2 separate regions of the Homo sapiens genome follow, and region 1 is linked to region 2. The links are contacts of gene promoters, found by promoter capture Hi-C in blood cells and fetal thymus (Javierre and others, 2016). All regions are on one chromosome and are shown on one strand. Each heading gives the region's core, a stretch centred on a gene start or on the middle of the fragment in contact. The rest is flanking DNA. Distances are from core to core; before and after follow the strand shown. Region 1 holds the start of CTSK (cathepsin K). Region 2 holds the start of CA14 (carbonic anhydrase 14).

Evidence for each region. The method cuts DNA at HindIII sites, captures the fragments that hold promoters and counts their contacts. A CHiCAGO score of 5 or more calls a contact.
Region 1: a contact is called between a fragment that was not itself captured here and the fragment with the promoter of CA14 in region 2, in 1 of 17 cell types (endothelial precursors). The highest score is 6.5, in endothelial precursors.

The regions. Positions count from the first base shown.
Region 1 is chr1:150,806,423-150,810,890 of GRCh38, reverse strand. CTSK (cathepsin K) reads left to right here and starts at 2,631. Exons shown (of 8, transcript NM_000396.4): 1 at 2,631-2,677; 2 at 4,085-4,205. The coding sequence starts at 4,086. ARNT (aryl hydrocarbon receptor nuclear translocator) reads left to right here. Exons shown (of 22, transcript NM_001668.4): 22 at 1-1,178. The HindIII fragment of the contact is 1,367 bases long and covers 731-2,097 here.
Region 2 is chr1:150,255,973-150,260,332 of GRCh38, reverse strand. It overlaps CA14 (carbonic anhydrase 14), which reads right to left and starts at 2,559. Exons shown (of 11, transcript NM_012113.3): 1 at 2,150-2,559; 2 at 162-182. The coding sequence starts at 2,204. RefSeq lists an enhancer at 3,675-4,360. The HindIII fragment of the contact is 8,593 bases long and covers 1-4,360 here.

The sequences.
Region 1 (4,468 bases), core at 165-2,664, 550 kb before region 2:
TTTAGCAAGCAACTGAGATTTAAGTCTCTCTGGCCCTAAGAGGTTTTTCCTCTTTGCTCCCTCCAATCTTGAGATTGGGTTTTGCTTTAGAGTGCAAGTATCATAATTCCGTATGATAGATGGGGCCTGGACACCCATCTCAACAGGGTCACTTGGTAATTAACAATAGCCATATAAATGCGGATACAGGTTACTACCCTCACCCTTTACCTTCCTCAGGTAACAGTCGTAGATACCAGCTTTTTTTTTTTTTTTTTTAAATTGGCTTTGGCCAGTAGCTAAAGTGCAAGACTGAATTAATGAGAAGATATATTAAATGTAGTCATAGGGGACTGAGGAGCAAGGGTGGCCTTGAAGAGGCCAAAGGAATGTCCATTTGCTGAGTTTCCCTTCCTTATGTCTCCAGTCTGGTGCCAGGTAGTGGAGTAAAAAAGGAGACAGTTTATTTTTTTATTCTATGTGCACACTTACAGTATACATATATATTTATATCACAATTTACGAAACCAAAAAGTTGAGTTTCCAATGGAACCCTTGTTTTTTAATAATCGACTTTTTAAATGTGATCAGGACTATAATATTGTACAGTTATTATAGGGCTTTTGGGGAAGGGGAGGATAGCGAGAAGATGCTCTGGGGGTTTTGTTTTTGCTTTTCCTTCAGGGTTTTATTTTTGACTGTTTTGTTTTCTTGTTGGCCATTTCTGTATTGCTGGCATCTGTGCTAAGCTTTACAGTGGCAAAAATAATGACATGTAGCAAAGATTTTCAAACAAAATATTTTTTCCTTTTGTAAAATTTCTTGTGTTGTGTGATCTTGATTGCGGCTTTATCATTCCTTTCCAGTTCATAAACAACAGGCACCCACAACCAGAGGAATCTATAGTTTAAGCTCCAGACATACAAACATAAGGCACATTGTGTCTTTAATTTCAGGAATCAGAAATCATAGGGTTCTGATCACATTGCACGCCTCCCCCCTCACTTGTCCTCCTGATCCTGACACATTCTGAGTAACATCAGCAGGAATGCTCTGACCATGAGGTGGGGGTTTTGGGGTGGGCGTTGCCTGGGTTCTTGGGAGAGAGGGGAAGAGTCGGGACTTGAAAACCACTAGGGCACATCTGGATGCCTTCCCCCAGTATGTCCTTTTCTGGATTAAAATGAGTGAAATTTAAACTGTTCAAGTCTGGACCTGGTTTCCCTCTAGGAGACTATGTTGGTTCATTAGCAACTTTTTTTTTTTTTTTTTTTTTTGTGTGTGTGTGTGTGTGTGTGTGTGAGAGATGGAGTCTCGCTCTGTTACCCAGGCTGGAGTGCAGTGGCACGATCTTGGCTCACTGCAACCTCTGCCCCTTGGGTTCAAGCAATTCTCCTGCCTCAGCTTCCCAAGTAGCTGGCACTACAGGTGTGTGCCACCATGCCCAGCTAATTTTTGTGTTTTTTTTTTTTAGTAGAGATGGGGTTTCACTATATGTTGGCCAGGCTAGTCTCGAACTCCTGACCTTAGGTGATCCACATGCTTTGGCCTCCCAAAGGCCTGGGATTACAGGCGTGAACCACTGCGCCTAGCCTGTTAGCAGCTCTTAAAATCCAGAGGCATAAGCCTGTATTTTTGAGGGTTTATGCATGGAATCCAGCTAGAAACTGAGTCTATTACAGATCCCATTTATTATCCTTTCTATTCCAAGAAGCCTTTTTTTCTCCTTCCCCACATCTGTTTATGGAAGAAAATGAAGTTTGGGGTGTGGTTTGAGGAATCAGCTAGATTCTTATGATCTGTCACATGCTTGGATGTTGGGGAAGCATTTGGAGAAGCTCATGTGACTTGTCCTAGATTGGGGATTTTAATTGAGACAGATGATGTTTATCGGGCATCCCACCACCTGAGAGTTTTAGCAACAGAGTCACATGTGAGTCCATCAGAACTTACGGCATTGATTCAAGTGCTGTCATAAATAACCAGGACTGCTGTTTTTGGTTACTTTTAAAGACAGTTTCATCTGGACTTTCTGGGCATATCCTCCTTCAGCAAAACCACATTAGGCTGGGAAAACTATTCTGCCTGGAAGTAATGACAACTTGCAACCAACAAGCTTATAAAAATACAAAGAATTCTGGAGCCTATGGCTTCCATTACATTATTCTTTTATAGCCTTTTATGTTCATTACCGCATCCCAGAGGTGAGAGTCAGACACAAATATGAAAATAGGTTTCAATGTTGGAGAGGTAAATCCTAACAGGAAAGGGGTAGGAAAAGATATAATCCCCCAATATTAAAATAAAGATATTGAAGAAGAAGGATGGGAGAGACTAGGGCTGTGTCCTTCCTTTTACTCACCAAAAGAGAAAGTAAGCTCCTATTTGAGTCAATAGATATTGAGGTCTTGTTATTTGCCACCAAAGACAGTCTTGTGAGACTAAATAGCTAGTAATTCCCTACCCTGGCACACATGCTGCATACACACAGAAACACTGCAAATCCACTGCCTCCTTCCCTCCTCCCTACCCTTCCTTCTCTCAGCATTTCTATCCCCGCCTCCTCCTCTTACCCAAATTTTCCAGCCGATCACTGGAGCTGACTTCCGCAATCCCGATGGAATAAATCTAGCACCCCTGATGGTGTGCCCACACTTTGCTGCCGAAACGAAGCCAGACAACAGATTTCCATCAGCAGGTAACGTTTGCAACTTCCTAGATCTTTTAGCTTTTCATTCCTGTCAATTCTCTGAGTATTAGGGATGTAGTGACTTGAGGATCACAATAAACTTTTAGCCTCTGCAGATGAAAACAGAGATGCACTTCTTAGGTCATTCCCTGGCTAAATAAAATCTGCCTGGAAATCTGTAGAATTCCTTGTATGATTTATATATATACATACATGATTGTTAGTAAAAGCAAAGTATATAGGGAATCATTTCCCCATCCTTCAAGAGTGGCCTTTCTGCAGTGTTTTCTACTTTGGCCAACAAGGATCAAAACGGTTAACTCCTTAGTGAGGAGGAGGAGAGTGGTATGGGGAGGTAGTAGCTCAGTGCTTCCTGTTCACTGAGACATCTCAAAGCCCTTAACACTCTAGTTTTTAAATGTCCTACTGGACATTTTGCCAGTTTGCAAAATTACATGTAAATGGACTATAAGCAATTGTGTAAGCCATATGTCATGCTGCAGGCTGCAAATTGTTCTTAAAATGGAGGATTTGTAATTAAGAAAGCCAATGCAAGAAATGAGTGAAGCTAACTAGAGTAAACTTATGAAAAGCTGTGAATTTCATCATCATAGAACATTGCTTTTCAGTCTGAACATTCTTCTAACAAACCTTGGATCTGAGGCTTCTTGTCCTTTGCGGCAGCCACAGTGGGTTTTTGTTGTTAGGGGAAAAATAAAAAACCTTGCCCGCAGCATCTGGTTAAGATTAGGGCAGTTTCCTGCCTAAGGAGGGAAGGGAGAGAAAAAGGAAGAAGAAATGCATAAGGAGAATGAGGAGATATACAATGTCTCAGAAAACAGGAAACATTGTCCTATTTTCCCTTGTCCTCTTCTGACAAGATCTGGGAAAGTACCAGAATTTAGGCACGAAAGAGAAGAACGCCTCGAAGAAATGATCAGGAGGCAAAACTTAGACGGAAATCTCTCCTTTGTGTATTCTGAACCCCACTACCACCTTGCTATTTGTCTGTCTCCAAGCCTGCTAGGGACCCTGGAGGAAACGCACTGAGCCCATTCTGATTGTCCAGTTTCTATCCCCCATTTCTGGTTGTGTACGTGTGTGTGTGTGTGTGTGTGTGTGTGTGTGTGTGTGTGTGTGTGAGAGAGAGAGAGACAGAGAGAGAAACAGAGAGAGTGTGTGTTGCCTAAATCTCCCGAGAGAGAGAGAGAGAGAGAAAGAGAGAAATGGCTAAATCCCCCTAGATCAAAGTCCTTGGAACCAGATGTACCAGCATCCTATCTAAACACAGGCCCCTCCTGACTATCATTGTTTTATCACCCTTTTTCCGTCTACCTTTCTCTTCCTCATAAAGCCTAGTTTTCCTCTGTTTCCCTGCCAAATGGAAGAGTTTTCCCTAACTACATTCTTCTGCAGGATGTGGGGGCTCAAGGTTCTGCTGCTACCTGTGGTGAGCTTTGCTCTGTACCCTGAGGAGATACTGGACACCCACTGGGAGCTATGGAAGAAGACCCACAGGAAGCAATATAACAACAAGGTGCCTGGGGTCCTGGAGGGGGCATGGCAGGAAGGCTGAGACCTGAGCTCTCTCATCTTAGCTTCCAGACTCCCTTCTTCAATCCAAATGCTTTATTCCAAGCAAATCAGTCCCTCTTCCCTAACTCATGTTAACATACGGTTTTCATTCCTATGCTTCAAATCATCCTCTGTCAAACTGTATCCTTCCTTTGCTTTATAAGTGTGTTACATTTCTCTTTTGGGAAGAGTTCTAAGATTAATGCTGTTAATCTATAAGCAATT
Region 2 (4,360 bases), core at 1,310-3,809:
GGAGCCATATATGTGAAACTCAAGGCAGGAGGAGATCCAGAAGGGAGGAGCTAGGGTGAGAAGGTAAAGGAAGTCTCCTCCCACCCGCACAGTGTGTCTTCCTGCCAGGTGAGGAGGTCCCAGTGTGAAAGGGTTGTCGGGAGGCCTTGAGATCTGCTCACCCTCATACGTCCAGTGTTGACCTGCAAGGCAGAATAGTTTGGGTTACAGCCAGCGCAGCCTGGGGCAGAACCCTGGCCTCCACACTCCCCTCCCTCTGGCATTCTGTACTGCTCCACCTCCCTCTCTGCAGTCTCTCCTCCCTCTGCTCCAGCACTTTGCAAAGGAAGCCCTGAAACCGGACACCTCTGTGGAAAGGTCGGGGGGCCTATTTAAAATCACCAGCCAGGCTGTGTTGGTGCCTGCCGAGTAAAAGGGGAGGAGGAAGGAAAAGAGGTAAAGCCCAGAGACTAAAATTAACCTGGATCCAAATGTGCGATTGGCCCAACCCTTTCTTTTCTGTAACCTGTGCCAAGTCAATCTAACACTTAGAAGATTGGGGTGGGTGGGGTGAGGGTGTGGGCAGAGGGTTGGAAGGATAGGGACTAGAAAGCGGGGAGGAGAAAGGAGTTTAGAGTGTGTGTGTGTTGGGGGGTGCTACTGAGGGGAGAAGGGGAGATTATTCCTTTGCTTTAAAAAATTGCATGAATAAAGCCACTGAGCTGTAAACTCATATGTAAATTCTTCTTTTCTGGTCCCATTAGCTCTAGAGGAAACTCCTCATCACCAGGAGGCTCTGCTCCCTACATTCTGAGATGGTTAGGGAAGGGTGGGAGTCAGGGCAGGGTCTACTCTAGATTGAGGGTGGTGGGTGGGCACAGGCAGCCAGGCTGGCAGGGACAGGATGAAAGTGAAGCATTGTGTGTAGAGAAGAGAGCTGCCAGCTGGGTCACATGCCAGGCTCTCGTGCAGTCCTGTCTGACGCAAAGGCTGAGGGTCTGCAGGTCCAGCCCCTCCCTACGGCCAAACTGCCTCAAGAAGAAAACGAAGGCCTTCATGGTTTATGCTGCAATATTCATACTACTAGAAACTCTGGAGAAAAATCCTAAATTCCTTCCTCTCTCTGTCTCTTATTCCCTTAAATTCCTCAAACTTGTGAGATGTCCTGCTCTTATCCTTGACCTATTCTGCTAGCCCAAGGGAGAGCTGGAGGCAGCCTCTCATTTTACCATATCTGTGGGACCCCCCAACAACTCAAACTCCCTGGTCTGTAAAGGTGCCTGTCCACTCTGGTCAGAGCCTCAACACACTTATTCTGTCTCTTCCTCCTCTTTCCCTCTTTTTTTCTTTCTCCTCAGATGAGATTTGTGACTCTCCATTTGGCTGCCTGCCTGCCCCCATCCTCTCTGCATTTGCCTTCTGCTCTCTGGACACCCACCTCACCCTGCTCTTTCCACAAACCTCAGTTACACACCTAGTATGTGCTGGACACTGTGCTAGGCACAGGAAACACAAAAATGAGGTCTAGGAGTTCCTGGGGACACTCCTGGAGCGCTTCAGCCTGTTCTCCCAAGAATCCCTCCTCATCTCCTGGGAGCTCCTGAAAGTCCTTTGTAAACTGTAAAATGTCAAACAAATGTTGACTCTTACTGCCACTTTCAGAGGATAACTGGGGAGTTAGTCGCTCCACAGAATGAAGAGGGAATCTTGGCCAAAAGGGGATGAATTGGAGATCAGGGTCTGAGTTGGGCAGGAAGTATTCTTCCCCCTACCCCCATCTATCCATCTTTTTACTCCAGGCCTCTTTGACTCCCTATTTGGAGGAGTTTGTAAATAAAGAAGTCCAGGAGTCCTGCCTGGGACCAGGGCAGTGGGGGAAAGAGCTCTGGAGAAAATCTGTAGCCTGCAAAGAGATTCCAGCACTTGCATGTGTACACACTCTGCCTGCCTGCCGCTAGTTCTCCCCGACCTCCAATAACAACAAGGCTGGAGAGACAAAAGGTAAAGAAGGGAAGTGGTCTCCTCCACACCCCACTCTTTTTTCCTCATCTCTGAGCCTATTATTCCAGCCTCTAGGCTTCCTTTCACACCTCTCCTCCCCCCATTAAGCACACCTGGCGACATGTGAACATCAGCACAAATCCACACACAGACATTTAGTTGTACCTACCCCCATCTGCAGCCAGGATCCAAATCACCTCCAGCAGGAGGGCGGAGAACAACATAGTGTCCCAGGAAGGGGTGCAGGGGACTGGGAATTTGAGGACTAGAGGACTAGGACAGGCAGAGAGAGAGGGAGGGAGGAGTGAGAGAGAGAGAGAGAGAGCGAGCGAGCTCCTGGCGTGAGTGTATTTATCTCTGCTTCTCTTGCTGTCTCTGTCTCTGTGGGCTTCCAGGGGATTCGGTGTTCAGTAGGGTATCATGGGTTTCTGGATCCCCAGGACAAATCTCTTGCTGCCTCTTTGCCCTCTCTCTTTATCTCCCTCTGCAGTCTCCACTCCACTAGCTGGCCAGCGACTTTACAACTGCCTCCTGCTTTTAAGGTGGCTCTGAACTGGTGTATGTGGGGACGGGGGTGCTGCCTGGGCTGCTGGTGAACAGCTCCTTAAATAGCCAATTAGGCATGCAGGATGGCCCCACTCGGAGCTGGAGCGCGGCAAGTTTCACTGGAGCCCTGGCCCTGGCTCAGGAGCCCAGCTGGGGTGAGCTCTTCCTTCCTCTGCTAGTCACACAGATGCTGTTTAGATGGGTGTTCCCTGGAGCAGGCAGGGTCAAGGAAGGGGCTTTGGGGTTCAACTCAGCCCCCTCAAAAGGACACTGTATTTTCATCCCCCCGCCTGATTTCTCCTCTGAGGAGCAGCTCCCTGGGTGGTATGCGGCAGATGGTGGGGGTACCTGTTCCCAATTCCCTGCATAATCTGAGCTGCCCTGGAATGGGAAGAGTCCAGAATTAGGAGATATATAACAAGAAGGAATTAGGGACTCAGGGTGCAGGGGAGGGGTGGAGGAAGTCAATAACTAAAACCTGAGTTGTGTCCTAAGTTCTAAGGAAGAGAAGTGAGGCAAGGAGAACTCATCTGGAGCAATCTCTTCTGTGCCTGCCACCACCCCCTTCCCACGGTGAGGCCTGGGTCCACGTGCCTGTGTGGCCTGGGGTGGGGGGAGTGCGGGGAGGGAGCGTTGTTTGCTGGATAAAGCCCATTTGTATGCCCAGTGGGGGAGGGGTGTAGCAGCACCATGGAGAGACAGCGGCTGTAACTGCCAGACCCAGCCACCTCCCTCTCCAGGGAGCCCAGATCTAGGGCGGCTTTTGTCACTGAAGAGGACACTGACCTCCGGCAGAGAGGCCAGGGCAGGAGGAAAGGAGAGACTTTAGGAACAATCACTACCACCATCAGAAAAAGGTGGTTTCCAGAGAAAGAGAGGGGAGGGTCTGGAGAGACCATGTGATCCAGATGGAAGAGGGGCTCAGGGTCTTCCTTCCAGCCCAACAAAGGGCTGAGGCAGGACATGTGGCACTGAATGAAACCTGCCACCAAGGAGCTGCGTCCGTGGAGCATGGAGGCTGCACGTCTCAGGAATGTGAACTGATGTTTGCTCCCCACGGGACTGGAAATCCCGATTGGAATGTACATCCTAAATCCCTCGTTAGAGAATGTGAAACCCACAGATACTTTCAAGCCAGACATTGAAACCTCTTTCTCCTCCATGCTCTTCACCAGAGGCACCAGCCAGGAGGATGCACCCATCTGAAGCTCCCTCTGCCCTCCTTGCTCCTGCCGAGTAGCAATAAATAGCCAAACAAAGGGAGCAGAAGCTAAATAAGGGAGCAGGATAAAAGCCAAATGAACAGAATAATGCATGTGCTGGATCATCAGCTCCTGCAGAGACAGGAGCTCACTGTGCCTTTCTATCCCCTGTGATTGATCTGCAAAGCCAAGCCATTTTGCTGATGTCATTTCCCTTTTTCTTCTCCTATCACCCTCTGAGTTATTTGTCCCCTTCAGGAAAGTTTTATGTTTTGAGGTTCCCCAAAGCCCCATCCATCCCATCTAAGAAGAGTAAAAGACTTGAAGTATAAATTAGATTTCCCGGGAATCAGGGTACTTAACACAAAGAAACAAAAAAAGAAAGCAGAGACATCTTGGTATGAAAGAAGAGATTTAGTAGGAAAGAAGAGGTCTGAACAGAATGACCTCTGCCGGAACAGAGTTCCCCTGGAGCGCTGAGCTGAGATTCCGATTTCCAAGGCAGATAGCGTGTCTTGCCAGGCGCCACCTCCTGGCTCGTCTATGAATTTTTAAATTTTAATTTAAAATGCTTTGTGTATGTGGTTCCTTCTGGGAGGTATTTCACTGCTGCTGGGCTTTGGGATTTTGCC